2 separate regions of the Homo sapiens genome follow, and region 2 is linked to region 1. The links are contacts of gene promoters, found by promoter capture Hi-C in blood cells and fetal thymus (Javierre and others, 2016). All regions are on one chromosome and are shown on one strand. Each heading gives the region's core, a stretch centred on a gene start or on the middle of the fragment in contact. The rest is flanking DNA. Distances are from core to core; before and after follow the strand shown. Region 1 holds the start of KCNB1 (potassium voltage-gated channel subfamily B member 1). Region 2 overlaps SLC9A8 (solute carrier family 9 member A8).

Region 1 (6,258 bases), core at 41-2,540:
GGCGGCCGCCCTGGGGGTGAGTGTTGGGGCGTACGGCCTTCCGTGGGGGTGCATGGGGACACGGACAGGGGGTTTGCCTGCCGCAGCTCGGCCTGTTGGTCTGCTCGGGCTCCGCAGCTCCAGGCTGGAGGGGAGCGGGGTGGGAGGCAGGCAAGGGCTGAGGCCTGAGGGGACGCGCAATCCCCATTCTGGGGCTAAGGCGTGAGCCCTACATGCAGGGGGTGCTCAGGGGAACCCCCCGAAATCACTAGTGCGCGGTAGGAGGATGGCACCTTTTGAAAAGGCCAGAAAATTTAGCTCATTTCCCCGCCTCCCACCTCCCCCACCCCTTCCCTTCCAAGCCCGGGGAAAGGCGCAGAACCCGGAGTTATAAAAAGCCATCGCGGGAGAGGAACGAGGAGGAGGAGTAGGAGGAGGAGGAGGAGGAGGAGGAAGAGGAGGAGGAGGGGGAGAAGGAAGAGGAGGGGGAGGAGAAGGAGGAGAAGGGGGCGGGGAAGGAGCGAGGGGAGGACGGAGCAGGCGGATCCCGAGGACTCTGCCCGCCCCTCCTGCGGTAGGGTTGGGGGCTCAGAGGGAGAGGCGAGAGCGGGCTTTTCCTCCTCGCGGCTCACCTTGTCGCTGGAGCAATCTCAGGAGATGCTCCAGTGTTTGGGAAGAGGGGTCGCTCCAGGACAGAGGGGCTGTTGTGCACACCCCGTCTGTTGTGACCTCGGACAGGTGGGCACCTGGAACCCCCGGAATTCCCCCAAATCTTTTAAGATTTGGAAAAAAGCCCGCTGCCATTCCCCCACCCCCAAAATCTTGATTATCTCGAGAAGGGGAAGGAAAAGAAGAGAACTCGTTAAAAAAAAAAAAAAGAAGGAAAGAAGAAGAAGAAAGAAAGAAAAAGATAAAGAAAGAAAGTTTTCATGCAGCTCCCCCTCTCTCCCCATGGCGGGGCCAGGTTCGGGACTCGATCGGGAGACCCATAATGAAGAGAGTTTCAGCACTCTAAGGGGCGGACAGCGCCCCGGGCGGCTGGGTCGCGCCTGGGCCGCAGAAGCCCAGGGTGGGGCCTCCCGGGCTCCAGGGGCATCTCTTGGGGCCCTCTCCCCGCCCCGAGGGGCGGCCCCTCCCTCCATCCATGGGGTGCGGCGGACTTCAGCACCGGCGGGAGGGACAGCGACCATCCGTCCTACCCCACTGAGCCGCTTAAGCGCGGGGGAAGGTCAAGGCCGGCTGGGAGCCTGGTGGAGAGGTGGGGGGCGGGGGGACAGCATGCCCAGCTCCCCGTTTGCTGACCCGCGTCCGCTTTCGCTTTCTGCCTCGCAGCCGTCGGGATGGAGGTGAGAAGACGGCCGTGACGCGCGCCCGCGGGGCCCCCTGCACCCCCAGCAGCCCACAGCGCTCCCTGCCCCCCTCCCCCGCAGCAGCGGGCCTTGCCGTCGAGTGACAGCGGCCTGGGGGGGCAGGGGGGGCGGGGGCGGCCGGATCAGCGATGCCGGCGGGCATGACGAAGCATGGCTCCCGCTCCACCAGCTCGCTGCCGCCCGAGCCCATGGAGATCGTGCGCAGCAAGGCGTGCTCTCGGCGGGTCCGCCTCAACGTCGGGGGGCTGGCGCACGAGGTACTCTGGCGTACCCTGGACCGCCTGCCCCGCACGCGGCTGGGCAAGCTCCGCGACTGCAACACGCACGACTCGCTGCTCGAGGTGTGCGATGACTACAGCCTCGACGACAACGAGTACTTCTTTGACCGCCACCCGGGCGCCTTCACCTCCATCCTCAACTTCTACCGCACTGGGCGACTGCACATGATGGAGGAGATGTGCGCGCTCAGCTTCAGCCAAGAGCTCGACTACTGGGGCATCGACGAGATCTACCTGGAGTCCTGCTGCCAGGCCCGCTACCACCAGAAGAAAGAGCAGATGAACGAGGAGCTCAAGCGTGAGGCCGAGACCCTACGGGAGCGGGAAGGCGAGGAGTTCGATAACACGTGCTGCGCAGAGAAGAGGAAAAAACTCTGGGACCTACTGGAGAAGCCCAATTCCTCTGTGGCTGCCAAGGTGAGTCTGGGATCTGGGGGCTGCTGGTCTGGGGGGATCTGCTTGCATCCCCATATTGAGGACCACTGCTGGAGGACTCTGGCTTTGTTCCCAACGATGAAGATTAGTAATGGGGAGGGGCTAGGACTGAGTCCCCAGAGGTGAGGACCAACCCCCTCAGACTTTTCCCATGTGGCACTGGTCACTCCATCTTTTTATTATCCAAGACGTTATACCCCTACTTGGTTGGAGAGGTTTCACAGGGACCCATAAAAAGCCACAGCAAGAAGATGGACACTGACGAATAAGAGAGAGAGCACAGAGAGACAACAGTGGCTTGCTGGGGTGGAGTAGGGTTTGCTTCCCTGTGAAGTCCCAGACCTAGGCTGGATTGGATCACCCTGTGATTTTAATATCTCCATATTTATAACCTCACTCTGCCCCAGCAAGGGAAAAAAGCAGCTTACAGACATGCTTACAGGACATTGAGATACTGTCAGATAGTTTAAACATAAGTAAGAAGGGACCCCGAGGGGTGGGTGTGGACCCACACGACACATGCAGTTGGTTGTGGATGCTTGCGGGTGAGGGGTCACCCCCTGGTTACTTATTTATTTGGTGAGTTTATTTCCAGAATGGTTTGGTGCAGCTTGTAAAGATGTTTCAGCTCTTGGAACAAGATGTAAATTTCAAAATAGGAGAGAAAAATGAGGCAATGTGAAAAATAAAGGAGGAGGAGGAGGAGGAGGCAGGAATGAGTTTGAACACAAAGAGTGGGCCAGAGAGTCTTTGGTGCTGCTGGGTAATGGCAGGGGCTGTAGGGGACTGAGGAAGGCTTGGGGTGGGAGCCAAGGCAGGGCAGGAGGGCACTGGTTGATCAGCAACTTCTCTACGTCAGGCTGGGATTTGGGGTTGCCTGGGAAAGATGGGGCCTGTCTTCATGTGCCCGAAGTGCTGGGTGCTGGGAGCAAATGACAAAACAGTGTGTGCAAGGCTATAAAAGAGGTTCTGTGAGGTTCACGGAGAACCCAGAAAAGAGAGATGTTGATGTTGAAATCCAGCAAGACCAACTTGGGAAACATGGGGAGAATGTAACTGAGTGTGGGGCCTAAAAAAAGGGGTCAGGTAAGTAGATTTGTGGTAAAAGAAAGAGGAGAGGAGGAAGCCTAAATATCCAGCCATATCTTACTAGCTAGGGCTGACTCCTGTCCAGCCCAGCCTTTCATTGTGGGGTCTCCGGCTCAGTTCTCACTGAAGGCCCACCTGCAGGTCCCAGTCTGAAGGGAGACTCCGTGGGGTCCTTCCTCCAGATCTAGCCACCCAAGGAGAGGCCCCTGAGAGTGGATGGAGAAGGGGTGGCTGGTAAGAGGGTGGAGGGAGCCCCCACGTGTTTTTTTCGTTTCCCTGTTGGCCCTAACAAGGATGTAGAGGCTCCTGGGCCTGGCTTCCTCCTCTGAGGCTGTGGGCTGTCTCTCTCCATAATCCCGCCCCCAATTTTGTGTCCAAAAAGCCTCCTCCTAAGACAGAGTCACTCACCCTTAATCAGCTTAGGATCAACAGACTTATTTTGCTATTTCCAGGCATGACACAGGTTCTCCCACTGCACATCCCATTTAGGCCCAAATGTGACTCTCCCTCCCTGTCCCATCCCTAAGACATGAGAACAAGGTACAGGGAACTGGACAATTTGCCCTCCCAGAGAAGAAGCAGGCACAGGGCCATGTTTTGGTCTGGCAGCAAGACCCAAGCACCGGGGCTTGCAAGAGGTGCTGTTTGGGAATAAAGAACCTCTCCTCTCCCTTGGGTTAATCCGCTAGCAGGGACAGCCTTGTGACCTCTCCATGATCCCAGTCTGGGGCTGCCAGCTCACATTCCTGGCAGATGGACCATCTAGGATTTTCTGTAGCCAGAGCTGAAATGGGGAGGGAGGCAGGCTCACTGGCCCTCAGAATAGAAATCCTGGCTGCCAATGATCAAACACCTACTGTGTATGGAGTGTAACAACGCAGCTCTGTTATTATCCCACCTTTCGCAAACAGTGAGGCTGAAAGAGGTTAAGTAACTTGCCTAAGGTCACACCACAGGCAGTCAGGAGTAGCCAGAAATCCAAACCGAGTGTTCTTTCTATAATGATCAAGTGCCGCAGCCTCCTCCCCAGTCTCCCGGCTTCCACTTTTGCCCCTGCAATCCATTCCCCACATAGCAGCCAAAGTGAGCTTTTCAAAATGTAAATTGGATCACATTATTCATCTGCTTAAAATCCTCCAGAAGTTTCCCATCACACTCAAAATAAAATTCAGACTTTTCATCCTGGCATACAAGGCCCAGGCAGAATCTGGCCCCCATGACCTCTCTGGGCTCATCTCTTTTGATCTCCTCTGGTTCACTTGGCTCCAGCCCCACTGGCCTTGCTGTTCCATAAACAGGCCAGAGTTTATCTGACCTCAGGACCCTTGCACTTGCTGTTTCCGCTGCCTGGAATGCTCTTCCCCAGATTCCCCCTTGGCCAGCCCCTTCTCCCCCTTCCTCATTTGAGCAGGTCCCTGCTCACATGTCCCCTCCTCATACAGACCTTCCTTGACCGCTGTTCTAAACAGTTTCCCTCCCCTCACTCTCTGTTGCATCATGCAATGCCTTTCCTGCAGAGGCCTTAAACGCCATCTGAAATTATATTTCCTTCTTTGTGTGTCTCTGTTTCACACCCACAAGAATGTGAGTACCATGAGTTGATTCACTGCTTGATTCCCAGCACCCATGATGGTGCCTGGCACTGAGGAGCATGTGGAATGAATAAATGAATGAATGAACGAATGAATGAATGAACGAATGAATGAATCAAGCAAGCAAGCAAGCAGTCAGTCACTGTGTCTCAGGGTTTGGGGACCTGTCACCCCTTCTCACTGCCCACCTGCAACCCAGGTCCCTGTGCCTCTGGCCTCCTTTGAGTCATCTGCACCTTGCCCATCCCATCCCCACCCATCCCCCCAGCTTGGATGCCTTGCTTGTCAAAACAAGCAAAGCCTGTGGAAATTGCTTAGAACTCACAGAGTGACAGGACCAAATGGAGGATCATTTCTAGGTGATTGTAAGATACAAAAGTGGCCATATCTCATATGCTGAAGAGCAAGGATGGATCTGGTTCTGTGCCACTCCCCACTTCCATAGCTTTTAGCTAATTTCTCCAACTTTCCAAGTCCCAACCTTCCACCTGTAAAATGGAGATAAAAGGCTCACCTTACAGGGTCTTCATTAAATCACATTTGTCAAAATTTTGCTCAAAGCCTAGCACATAGCAGGTGGGGATTGTTGTTATAAATGCTAAGGAAAAGAGTCTTTTTTCTAGGGCTGGGTGGGCCGAGTTGCTGCAAACCCTTTCCTTCTGAGAGCAGCAGGGCCAGGGAGACTGAGCTGACACTGTTAATAATTGATGGGATGTTCTGGCAACTCGGAGACAAACCAAAGCACAGGCCCTAGGCTTTGCCATCAGGGGAGCGAAAATCAAAACCCATTAGGCAAAAGGCAGTGTGATTGATTCTTGTTTAGAAGATGGGGACAGCCCCATTGGTGTGACAGGGTTGCGGTGCTGGGGCTACCACGGGGCTTTGGCTTTCTCGGAAAACTCGACAGGCTTTTCTCAGTAGGAGAGACAGGGAACTGATTTGCCAGCCCAGGAGTGTCTGTGATCCCTGGGATAGTCTCAGGATTAAAGCCCTGAGATAACTTCCTAATTTCCAGGGTAGCTTATGTTTGTTGTGCCCAGCACTGATTAGTGGTGCTTCATATCTGCTATCTCATTGAAATTCCTCCAACAGGGATACAACCAGGTAGTATGCCAGTTAGGGATGCTTTGGGCTGCAAGCAGCAGAATAGAAAACTCAAAGTAGCTTCAATAAGGAGGAAGATGCATCATTGAATATAATATGAAGTTCCAAGGCAGTTGGTTTTAGGTTGAGTTAATGGCTCAATGATGCCACCAGGATTCTAGATTCTTTTCATCTCTCTGCTCCTCTGCTCCCCAACCCCTGCAAGTGGCTTGGTCCTCATGCTTGATGCTTCATATCACAAGATGGCTGCCCAGTTCCAGCCCTCAGACGTACATTCAGTGATGTTTAATCCGTGAAGAGAAACATTTTCTCCTATGCTCCACTTTCTTTCTTTTGTTTTTGAAATGGAGTCTTGCTCTGTCGCCCAGGCTGGAGTGCAGTGGCATGATCTCGGCAGCTCACTGCAACCTC
Region 2 (6,026 bases), core at 2,074-4,573, 400 kb before region 1:
GCCAGCCCCCTGCCCCACCCCCACAGGCGCATGGTACTAACCATCTTCTCAGTCTTGCTGAGGTTGACGTCCTTCTTGTTCCTGCGGTGTGCCTTGGCGTCCTCGATGTCCATGAGGCGAATGAGGGGCATGGTGCTGCCGCCCAGCAGCAGGATGGTGAAGAGCACGATGACGATGGTGGTGGTGCCGATGAGCTGCCGCTTCTCCATGGGCTCCAGGTCCAGGTGTAGGCTCAGGGCATAGGGGATGGCTCCCCGCAGGCCTGGGTGACAGCAAACAGTGTGAGAGGACACAGTGAAGAGGCAGCAGCTTCATGGGCTGGCTTCCCTGGAAATCCAGCCGGCCCAGCACCACGACCAGCTGACTATTCTAATGGCCCTGCTGAAGAGTGTGTGCTCACCCTGTGAGGCTTTGGGGTGTAAAGAGCAGGTGGCAGAGATGGGACCACAGACTCACCTCCATTCCAACATTGGCAGATCAAATGAGATGGCCTGCCCCAGCTACAGAGCCCCAGATGCGGGTGCGGGAGGACTTAGCAAGCCTGATGCTCGTGTCTTGGAAACTGCAGGACAGCTGCTGTGGGCTGAGCCCTCCCTGTGTGTGCGCCAGGCCTGGGCAGGTGCTCAGTGTGCAGAGCATCACTGGATCTTCACAGGAATCCTCACCGAGCAGCGCTACTCTTGTCCACAACACACAGATGAGGGATGGAGGCCAAGAGCAGCATGGCCCGCCCAGGGCCACTCAACTAATACCCACAACAGCACAAGATGCAATGTGTCCAGTACCCCTCCTATCTCGAGATGCTGTCCCTGTGGAGGCCCCTGGTGGCACTGATGGGGCTGTGGGCTGCTTAGGTGGTAATGACAGGCTGGCTGGTCCTCTGTGACGCTACTAGGGCACAACTGAGGGGCATGGACTGAGCTGGAAAACAGCACATTCCTCTGTTAGAAGTTTCCTGGCTTCCTTGGTGCCATACGGAGGGGACAGGCAGTCCTAGCCCCACCCTTGGGGAGCTCCTAGAGCAGCTGGGAGGAGGCACAGCAAATAAGGGGTGTGAAATGCTACCTGGAAGAGATGGTGGGGGGAGGGGGGTGGGGGGTGGGGGGGGGCATGGTGCAGACAGCACCAGGACCTTCCCCAGACAGGAAAGCGGGGAGGCTCACATCACCATGGGGTAGGGCAGCCAGGCTGCTGCAGGCCAGACCCAGATGGGGAGACGGCAGGGCAAGAGCAAAGGGCACATAATACAGAGACATGGTGAGGACAAGGGACTCTCAGCCTCTCTAAACCTGTCACGGGCCAGAGGATTCAGTGACACGGGACATGTAATGTGCTTTAACAGGGTGTGTACCCAGCAAGTGCTTAGTACCGGCTAGCCAGGCCACCGGGCAATTCAAAGTAGGATTTCTTGGGCAAGGGGGATGCAAAGGCATAGGGATGACAGCATCCCCACGGCATCCAAACAGGCAGCTGGAAACAGGAGTACGGATCCCAGAGGGAGGTCTGGGTTCGCGGGAACAGCTTTGGGACTAGGTGGAAGTGAAGGCCAGTGGACGGGTGAGCGCACTCAGTGAAGTGCAGAACACGTGAACAGAAGTGGGGCTGGGGCCAAGTCCTGAAGAAGCCACTATTTGAGGGGTCAGCGAAGGGGGACGAGCCCAAGGAGACGTCAAAGGAGAGAAAGGAGGAGCATGGCCCAGAGGCCGGGGAAGAGAGTGAAGTGGTCCTCGCCAGAAGGTAGGGGCAGTGGGAAGGAGGTAGGCTAGGACGGGGGCGGACGCCTCCCCTCCAGGTCTGGCTGCGGGAGGTCACTGGTGACCTGCCAAGGCCAATTCCAGCCCCGTGGACAGGCGGTGAAGAAGTGGAGAAAATGAGCGAGCACGGCTCACTCGCAAGGGTCTGGCCATGGCAAAAGAGGTGCGGACACAGCTGCGGGGGACATGAGGAGGAACTCTGGCTGAAGTTGCTGGTGTTTTGTGGGAAGGAGGAGAAGCTCTGATTGCTTAAATGATGATGGGAGGGGCCGGTAGCAGAGGCTTGTTCAGTGCCCCTCGTTGAGGATCCAGGAAAGCCTGGATGGAAACCCACAGAGCAAGAGCCCGGGGAGCCTGGGAGAGAACAGGAGCCGACAGCCCCCGCCATTTCAAATACACTCCAACCTTCCCCATAACGCTCTCTTATCCTCATGCCCCCCTTCCCAAATAGCCCACATCACTTCAAAAACCTCTGACACACTTCTGCAACCATTTACAAAGTAGTTTGCCTCACTGGCAAAAGAGATTAGGAAAAAAATGAGTTTTTCTCACCACATATAAATGTATATGTATATATACACATACGTACATATATATGAAACATATACATTTTTAAACATGGCCTTTTGAAAGAAGAGAAATCTGAGACAAACTTGCAGATATGCCTTTGGATAGAGAACATTATAGTGTGTTGCTATAACCCAACCCACACGGAAAATACTTTGATTATAATATTTAAGCAAGAAAGCATAAAGAACAGTATGTATTGCTCAAAAATAAATTTAAGGATGCCTATGGATCCAGTTCTTTAGAAGCAAAGATGTATGAAATCATTTCCGTCCTTTAAAAAGTGATTAAATAGCAACTGAAACATTCAAATTAAACTACTAGAACTTTGTGACTAAAAGGAAAAATATCCAAAACTAACATAAGGTATGAAACAGTTTCAACTTTCACCTTTTCTACCTTGAGACCATTATTACTTCAGCCTAGAAGACCCCCAGGGAGGCGCTGAAGCACGCCCAGCTGCATCCCGGACTGCACTATGGTGTTCAGAAGAGAGTGGCAGAAATCCCGGCTCTGCCTCCAGTGGTCACGTGACCCTGGGCATGTTGTTTGCCCTCTTCCAACCAAGCCTCACCCACTTCATAGCACCATGGTGAGGGGCACCATCTTGATTGCAGTGGGTGCCATTAAACGGGAGTATTGATTACTTGTGGTTTTGCCAAGGGCGCTAGCAGAGAACCACAGCTCTCCCTGTATGGGGCGTGCTTTTAACAGGTACTTCCCCACCCCATTTATCCAAGATTTGACTTACCACTAAACCACATGATGAACATCATCTTCGGTGTGATTTTATGATCCCGGAAGAAATTCAGGAGGTAGGAAAGAGGGAAAATGTTTACCGCTCTGCCAAATAGTACAAGCACCTGTTGATAGCAACAAACTAAGTCTTAGGTGAAAACATCTGGCTCTTCAAGCTGAAGCTTCTTGGATGAAGCTAATGCAGACTGTGTAACACATCCAGTACAAATGCAGTATTCCCCTCAGCCACAAAAGACACGAGCAACACCATGCTCGTCAGAGACCCAGCATGGGCGTGCTGCCACAGCTGCGGGATTCTATGCATCTAGGAAAGGATAAAGCTTTGTACGTTACCTTTCTTAGTAGCCAGAAAAGAGAGGACGGACGAGGTATCAGGAAGGGCTTTAGTAATGACAGCAGAACAAAACTGAATGCCAAGAGGCTGTACAGAAGTATTCACAGATTAGTTTAAGGGCAACCTGACTCCCAAGGTGCCCCTCCTTGGGACAGGGCTGCATTGATCATACCAGGACTAGGGGGACAGACAAGGTGTTTCTGCCTCTCCCTCAGGGAAAGGAGGGCAGCTATGAAGGACCTCCCATGCATGGAAACACTGCTCTCTGAGCAAGAGGAACGCAGAGGTAGGGACTATCAGGAGGCCACATGCCCCGGCTTAGCCTGCCAGCTGCTTGCTGTGGCTTTTGGTTCCTCTCCATCTCCAAAGGCATGTTAGTCTTGGCAAAGTACAGCTTTATGTAAAGTTTACATCTTTTTTTTTTTTTTTTGAGACAAAGTCTCACTCTGTCTCGCATGCTGGAGTGCAGTGGTGTGATTGTGGCTCAATGCAACCTCAACCTCCTGGGCTCCAGTGATCCTCCCACCTTAACCTCCCAAGTAGCTAGAACTACAGGTATGCACCACCATGCCTGGCTACTTTTTAAAATTTTTTAGTTAAAGATGAGGTCTTGCTATGTTGCCCAGGCTGGTCTCAAACTCCTGGTCTCAAGCAATCCTCCTGCCTTTGCCTCCCAAAGTGCTAGGATTACAGGTGTGAGCCACTGCACCCAGCCTAAAGTTTAAATCTTATCTAAGTGGATTCTTAGGACATTTATTACTTTACTTTCATTTTCTTCATCTTGGTTCTCACCATAACTACTTGAAAAGGATGATATAGACATGTACAGTACATTCTTTAGGCTTTAAGTTTATTCCTTTAACAAGCATGAATTTGAGAGTTTTTTTTTTTTTTGAGATGGAGTGCTGTGGCGTGATCTTGGCTCACTGCAACCTCTGCCTCCCGGGTTCAAGCAATTGTCCTGCCTCAGCCTCCCTAGTAGCTGGGATTACAGGCGTGTGCTACCATGCCCGGCTAATTTTTGTATTTTTAGTAGAGACGGGGTTTCGCCAAGTTGGCCAGGCTGGTCTCAAACTGCTGACCTCAAGTGATCCACCCGCCTCAGCCTCCCAAAGTGCTGGGATTATAGGCGTGAGCCACCATGCCTGGCCAAGAGTAAATGTTTCCAATCATCAAACATTTCTATGCCAGACAACATGCTAATCATTTTACATGCATTATCCTGCTAAATTTAAATCCTTGCAAAGGTCTTACAAAGTAGGTATTGTTGTCTCCAGTTTATAGACAAGGAAACTGAGGTATAGAGAGATGAAGTAATTGGTCCAAGTTGACAAGGCAGGAAGTAATGGATCCAAGTCTCAAATCTGGTTCAGACCCCAAAGCCCATGCTCTTGACCACTAAATTGAGTTTACAGGGCAGGAACTGTAACCCACCTGAATAGGCCATCTCCACTAGCTGCAGGGCCAGCCTGGGCCTAACTGCTTAGAGAAAACTGAGTTGTCACCCCAGGGCATCCTTTCATTTTCCTCCCAACCTGTGGCTGAAATAGTCACCTCCCTGTTTCACCCACTGAAATCCAATCTTCCATGCCTACACTTGTTTCAGGTTTGATCAAATGTGTCCCTTTTCCCCAGTGGCCACACTAAAGGCTATTATACTTTTTTTTTTTGAGATGGACTTTCGCTCTTTTTGCCCAGGCTGGGGTGCAAATGGCATGATCTCAGCTCACTGCACTGCAACCTCCGCCTCCCGGGTTCAAGCGATTCTCCTGCCTCAGCCTCCTGAGTAGCTGGAATTACAGGCGCATATCACCACGCCCGGCTAATTTTGTATTTTTAGTAGAGATGGGGTTTCACCATGTTTGCCAGGCTGGTCTCAAACTCCTGACCTCATGATCCGCCAGCCTCGGCCTCCCAAAGTGCTGAGATTACAGGTGTGAGCCACCGCGCCCAGCCTAGGCTATTATACTTTCTGTAAAGGACTTTTGCTGCTTCTCTCTTGCCCTGAAACCTGAGTTTGGAGGACAAATAACAGTGACCAAGAGCAATGAGCTCTTGCTGACTGAGAGATGGAAGTACCCAGGTTGCAGGAACAATATCTTATAAACAGACAAATAGACAAATATAAATAGACAAATTTGAAGAAAACTGCAGTAAGAAGTACATAATAAATTATCCAGAAAAAGCAGAAAAGAGAAAGAAATCCCAACTCTATGACCACTGTGAACATGTGGCTATATTTTCTTTACATATTTTCTTTTTTCTGTGCATAATATTTTTACATGGTTATGATCAATTACATATTCAATTTTGAAATCTGCTTTTACCTCCTCACACAAAAACTTACAAACCTGTACTTTTATTTAAAGACCATAATATTCAAGGCCATTAAAAATCTTAAAAAACAAGCAAAAGTCCTTTCTGGGGATATTTATTCACTTAATTCTACCCCTGCCCCCTTACTGTATGTTTGTGATTTTTTTTTTTTAACAAAAGAAACTTTAAACAAAAGAGTGTCTATGTAGCTGTTGACTTTGAACAGTTAACAGTTACATAAATGAATCCGGAACATGTGTTTATTGATCTACAAATAAGTAATTAAATTTAAAAAA

What was found. The method cuts DNA at HindIII sites, captures the fragments that hold promoters and counts their contacts. A CHiCAGO score of 5 or more calls a contact.
Region 2: a contact is called between a fragment that was not itself captured here and the fragment with the promoter of KCNB1 in region 1, in 1 of 17 cell types (endothelial precursors). The highest score is 6.8, in endothelial precursors.

The regions. Positions count from the first base shown.
Region 1 is chr20:49,477,700-49,483,957 of GRCh38, reverse strand. It overlaps KCNB1 (potassium voltage-gated channel subfamily B member 1), which reads left to right and starts at 1,290. Exons shown (of 2, transcript NM_004975.4): 1 at 1,290-2,044. The coding sequence starts at 1,478. The HindIII fragment of the contact is 15,223 bases long and covers 1-6,258 here.
Region 2 is chr20:49,878,082-49,884,107 of GRCh38, reverse strand. It overlaps SLC9A8 (solute carrier family 9 member A8), which reads right to left. Exons shown (of 16, transcript NM_015266.3): 13 at 3,073-3,184; 14 at 42-262. Among named protein-coding and RNA genes, the nearest start is that of MIR12122, 17 kb to the right of the region's middle. The HindIII fragment of the contact is 159 bases long and covers 3,244-3,402 here.